Linked DNA regions of Homo sapiens: region 1 is linked to region 2. The links are contacts of gene promoters, found by promoter capture Hi-C in blood cells and fetal thymus (Javierre and others, 2016). All regions are on one chromosome and are shown on one strand. Each heading gives the region's core, a stretch centred on a gene start or on the middle of the fragment in contact. The rest is flanking DNA. Distances are from core to core; before and after follow the strand shown.

The links. The method cuts DNA at HindIII sites, captures the fragments that hold promoters and counts their contacts. A CHiCAGO score of 5 or more calls a contact.
Region 1: a fragment that was not itself captured here is called in contact with the fragment with the promoter of CFLAR-AS1 in region 2 in 1 of 17 cell types (neutrophils); the score reaches 5.4 in neutrophils.

The regions. Positions count from the first base shown.
Region 1 is chr2:200,520,574-200,523,453 of GRCh38, reverse strand. No RefSeq gene overlaps it. Among named protein-coding and RNA genes, the nearest start is that of SGO2, 4.2 kb to the left of the region's middle. The HindIII fragment of the contact is 225 bases long and covers 1,385-1,609 here.
Region 2 is chr2:201,156,462-201,159,382 of GRCh38, reverse strand. It overlaps CFLAR-AS1 (CFLAR antisense RNA 1), which reads left to right and starts at 1,591. Exons shown (of 7, transcript NR_040030.1): 1 at 1,591-1,628. The region is part of intron 8 of CFLAR (CASP8 and FADD like apoptosis regulator); the gene reads right to left. RefSeq lists enhancers at 863-1,192, 1,213-1,292. The HindIII fragment of the contact is 4,248 bases long and covers 1-2,921 here.

The DNA of each region.
Region 1 (2,880 bases), core at 248-2,747, 640 kb after region 2:
ATCACTGCTGCTTGGCATTACTAGCTCCTGTTGCTAGACCTGGTTTGGGTGTGTCTGACTCGTCAAACCTGAATCATATGCTACAAGTCCTGCTGCAAGGGAGTCCTGAACAGCCTGTGTCTGGCTTTTGTTGTTGTGTTGATGATGATGATGATTATGATGATGGTGGCTTCTTAGTGAGAGGTAACCTAGACAGACTCATAAGGTGAGGAATTACCCAAACTCAGGAAGTGCATTTTGAGCTAGGCGGCCAAAAGAATGACAAAGGTTCATTTCAGTATTTTATGCAACTTTACTACAATAATTACTTTTATTTTATTTAATAGAAACCAGTTAAATAAGCTGTGCTGGGTGATGGATAGCTAATCATTATAACAGCAGCAGATAATATTTATTAAGGGCTTATCTTGTCCTAGACACTGTGTCAAGCCCTTTAAATGCCTTTTTAGTTCTCAAAATGATCCTATGTGGTAGGTACCATCATTTCCTTTTTAAAGTTGAGGAAATTGTCCCCACCTTTCTGGGTGGAACCAAGAAAGCACCAAAAATTTAAGTAACTTCTACAAGGTTTAGTTAAGTGGTGCAGCTGGTATTTGAACCCAGGCAGCCTGGCCTGAGCCTCTCAAGATAGTGAGAGAATTACTTTGTCATTTGTCACTTTGGTTTTGAGGCATGGTATCCATCATGCTAATTTCCTCATGTTTCCTGCTTGTCAGCCTCCTCTTTTTCTTCAATATACGTTTATCAGGAGCCCCTTTGCACCTGGCATTTTGCTGAGGGTAAAGATGGATGAGGCAAATGTTCTTTCCTTTTGGGAGACAGTAGACAAGCAAACAGTCCATTCCTGTATATTGTGATATGTAGATGTTGAGGTTTGCAAAAGATGCCATCAAAGCATTTAGGAAACAGGACAGCTGCGGTGACTCACACCTGTAATCCCAGCATTTTGGGAGGCCAGGGCAGGAGGATCGCTTGAGCCTAGGAGTTGAAGACCAGCCTGGGTAACTTAGCAAGACTCTTGTCTCAAGAAAGAAGGAAAGAAAGATAGAAAGAAGGAAGGAAGGAAGGAAAGAAAGAAAGAAAGAGAAAGAAAGAAAGAAAGAAAGAAAGAAAGAAAGAAAGAAAGAAAGAAAGAATATTTAGGAAACAAAGAGCAGCTCTTAAAAGAAGAGGGAAGACAAATCTTCAGGGGAAGTCACTTAGCGGTGGAACCTCGAAGGCCAAGTTGGGTGGGATTCATTAGGCTGACAGCACATAGCCTGTCCCAGGAAGCAGTTCAGAGCTGCTGGGGCCTAGGACGCATGTGGTCAGATAGGGGGAGCAAAGGCTGAGAGGTTAGACAAAGTCAAGTAACAGAAGGATCTTGGGTGCACGCTAAGAAGCTTTACTTTGTGTGGACAATGAAGGAAAGCATTGGGTGTAGGGGAGGGAGCAGTGCTTAAACTCTCAAGAAGTTTAAGAAAAGGGAGTGATAAAGATCCGATTAACTCTAGAAAATCCAGGATCGATGTTGGGGATAGATGGAAGGGGTCTTTGAGCCTTGAGGTGATTCAAGAACATTTCTGTGGTTTAGGCAAGGGCAGGGAATATGTAACAGGAGCACCAAGCTTCCTTATGTCTGACCAAGGTGTATGTGTGTGTAGAAGGGAGGCTTGTCTGGAAAGGGATAAAATAATCAGGGAACTTGGTCTACCACTTGTCCAGCTAGATAACCTCTAGCCGTGGTTCTCATGGCGACTTTTTTCTCTACACTACTCCAGTCCAGATGTTGGATGACACTGAGAGACTGGGGTGTAGTCTACTTCTCAGCCTCCACCCTGTGCCTCTGCAGGAAGTCCGAAAAGCTTAAAGTACTCCTTTACTCAATATCTCCACTCATAAAATCCAAACCATACAAAGTGGAGGCTTGAGGAAGGGGCCTGAAAAGATAGCTGCTGTACTCACTGGCTTTACCAGTGGACTCACAGTTACATGTACCACGCTGCTGGCATGGTCCTGAAGCCCACGTCTCCAGAGTTATTTCCATATGGACATTCCCTGGCTGCTGGATGGGGTCCCAGAGACCCCCATACCCTTCCTCATCATATAGCCTTCCCTTTTCCACTCTTCATTGAAAATGCAAAGGAATAGCAGCTGTGGAAAATAACTCTGCTATTTAGGAGATCTAGTCAGAAATGTCCAGTAGGCTCACAGAAATAAGAAATATGGAGCTGAAAAGGGATACTCAGATTTGGGAGTCAGCAGCAAATAGTAATTAGAAATCACAAGAGTTGATTAAGTTGTGGAGGAAGAGTGTGTAGAGGCACAAGAAGAGTAGAAGGTAGAATCACGGTGAACATCAATGAATGGAGGAAAGATGAAAAGGCAGCAAGAGAGGCAGTGAGAGGTAGAAGGAGACACGTGGGAGGGCTGAGGGAGGAATGATGGTTGGGAAGGGACTGCCAACCTGGTCTTAAGCAGCAGGAAGACCTGAGTGAGAACAGTCCTGGGGTTTGACAGTTAAGGAGTCATTCCTTTTGCAGCAGAGAGGATGCAGAGATGAGAATAGACAGTTCTTTGAGGATCAAGAAAGAAGTAACAATAGCTACAGGGGAATGAGGTTGGAGGGGGGGTTTGTATTTGTGAAAGGAAAATCTTGGGGCCTCAAAATTACTAAGCTAAAGGGAAAAGTCAAGGTGGAAACTGCTCAGGACAAAACTTTCCTCCCACTCTATTCAAAGTCATCCCTCTGCTCACTGAGATAAATGTACATTCTGATTGCCTCCTTCAGAAAAGCCTATCAGAAACTCAAAAGAATGCAACCATTTGTCTCTCATTTACCTGTGACCTGGAAGCCCTGTCCCTGCTTCAAGTTGTCCCCACCTTTCTGGGTGGAACCAA
Region 2 (2,921 bases), core at 342-2,841:
AGCCAACATTGTGACACTGCACTCCAGCCTGGGCAACAGAGTGAGACTCTGTCTCAAAAAAAAAAATTAATTATTATATCATGTAAGAATGAAGAGCTACAAAGGAGGTGCTGATATTCCTAAGTCTATAATCAATAAGCATCATTAACAAGGAAATAGGAGACATGATTCACAGGTTGCAAATAACCCATTAAATAGTGAGGGCAACCAGCCCCAGTGGCTCACATCTGTAATCCTAGCACTTTGGGAGGCCGAGACGGGCAGATCACCTGAGGTCAGGAGTTCGAGACCAGTCTGGCCAATATGGTGAAACCCCGTCTCTACTAAAAATACAAAAATTAGCCAGGCGTGGTGGTGCTCACCTGTAATCCCAGCTACTAGGGAGGCTGAGACAGGAGAATTGCTTGAACCCGGGAGGCAGAGGTTGCAGTGAGCCAAGATTGCGCCACTGCACTCCAGCCTGGGCAACAGAGCAGAACTCCGTCTCAAATTCAAATAATAATAATAATAATAATAATAATAATAATAATGATGAGGGCAAATGCCGTTACAGGATCTCTGGGTAGCTGTTATCAGGACTGTAATTTTGCACAGCCTTTTTGAAGAGCAATTTGGGAGTATCATTAAATTTTAAATGTGTATACCCTTTATAAAAAAAAGAAAACTCTGTGTGGTAGAAGAGGCCTGGACGCACTGTCCCCTAGCCATCTCCTCTGAGGGTGCAGGCTTGTTTCGATACCCAGTGCTGAATCCAGGCTGAACAAGGAGAGAACCTGGACTAGGACTCCAGTTCCATCACTGCTATTCTATTCCAAAGGACTCACACGTCTCTAATCATGGAGTATTTGCTCCTCCAGGGGGCAGAAGCAAACAGGGAAACACCAGACTCAAAGCTCTTTTGTGTACTTATCTCAAGATTGGTTCACTTCCCTCAAAACCTCTCTTCACTGATAAATGTCCTTCCTTATCAAACAAAGTCCTTGAAAGAAAACTTCACCACATTCTCCCTGCCCATGCTGATATGTAAGGCTTGGACAGAACAAATGCTGTACTGTGCCTTCCAGCTCTTTCCTTTATTTGTGCTCCCTGGAGGTTCTGGCTGGGGAAGCCCCTGTCACATGACTGTGAGCAGACAGCTGTGTGGTGCAGGGCAAAAGAGGAACCAGCCTTGGAATCACAAGATGTGGGTTTAAGTCCTAGTTCCTCCATCTCCTCCTACTAGGGTCTGAATCTTGCATGGTCTTGGAAGAGACTGAGCTATAACAGCAGAGAAGCTAGGAAGGAAATGGGAATCTGAGGTCTGGGGCAGAAAATCCTTACCTAAAAGAACAGAAGAAAAATGGCTAAAGCTGGAGGTGAAGCCAAAAACCATGCAGGTCCCAAGTGCCAATAAGAATAGCAGGTCTGAGCCTCAGACAAGACACAGCATTGCTTAAATATCCTGTGGCAAGGGAGTCACTCCACAGGCCCAGCCTGAAGACATTACCGCTGACATTTCCCATTAACGTCACAATTTTCCTCTATGAGGTGGTGAGGTGGAGTGGGAAGGGCTGTTAGCTGGCACTTGCAACTTTATTGCGCCAGCAAGAACATGCATACAGCCCAGTCTAACGTACAGGATCAAAAAGGTAATGACAGTGTGACTTTGAGTCAGTTTGAGTCAGCCCCAGTTTATTCATCTATAAAACAAGATTAAAACTAATGCTTGGCCAGGTGCAGTGGCTCACACCTACAATCCCAGCACTTTGGGAGGCTGAGGTGGGAGGATGGCTTGAGCTCAGGAGTTTGAGACCACCCTGGGCATCACAGGGAACCCCGTCTCTACAAAAAATAAAAAAACTAGCCAGGCATGGTAGTACAAGCCTGTAGTCATCACAGCTACTCAGGAGGCTGAGGCAGGAGGATCTCTTGAGCAGGAGGTTCTTCAAAAGGTGACTGTGAGGGCAGGGTACAGTGGCTCATACCTGTAATCCCAGCACTTTGGGAGGCCAAGGCGGGTGGATTGCTTGAGCTGCAGAGTTTGAGACCAGCCTGGGCAACATGGCGAAACCCCATCTCTACCAAAAATACAAAAATTGGCTGGGCATGGTGGCACGCATCTGTGGTCCCAGCTACTTGGGAGGCTAAGGAAGGAGGATCACTCGAGCCCAGGAAGTGGAGGAGCCAAGATCGCTCCACTGCACTCCAGCCTGGGTGAAAGAGTGAGACTCTGTCTCAGAAAAAAGGTGACCGTGAGGATCCAATGAGATTTCTGTAAAGATGCTTTGCAAACTGTGTTTATTCAAATATAAGATATTGACTTTAAAGGAAATAAAGGCAGCCATTTCAAAGTACAAATCACCAACCTTATGGTGTTGCACATCTCTCATGGAATCTCTCTCTTAGGACCTGGAGGGAGGTCTCTATATTCTAAACTAAAATGGGCTCAGAGCAGACAGAGTCCATATCCTATGTAGGTAGGACAGTAACTGTTTTGTCCTTGCACATAAATAGAGGAAGAAAAACTTGGGGGCTGGGTTTGGAAAATAAAATTTCAACAAACTACAGAAGACCCACTTCTCCTTCTAGAACCCACCCTGGAAATCCCACACTCAACCCAGTCTGATCTCCGTAAATTTCAACTGTTCTTTAGAACTTCTGGAAATGATGTGGGGGGGTGGGGAGGGGAAGGGCAGGGGTTCTTCTGGCCTTGCAGTTAGTACAGGGCTGTTCATTCAAGGCTAGGGTCAGCACTACTCACAGGTTTGAGGACTTCACAGATAAACCAAAAAAACCAAAATACAGTAAAATGTCATGACTTCATTAATTTAGAATTTGTTTTGATCTAAATGAGGATACATTTATCTTGACAATTTCTATGAAAAGGGCTTCATTAAATAAATGTATAAAATAAACAAGAATGAGGGAATGCTTCACCAGTT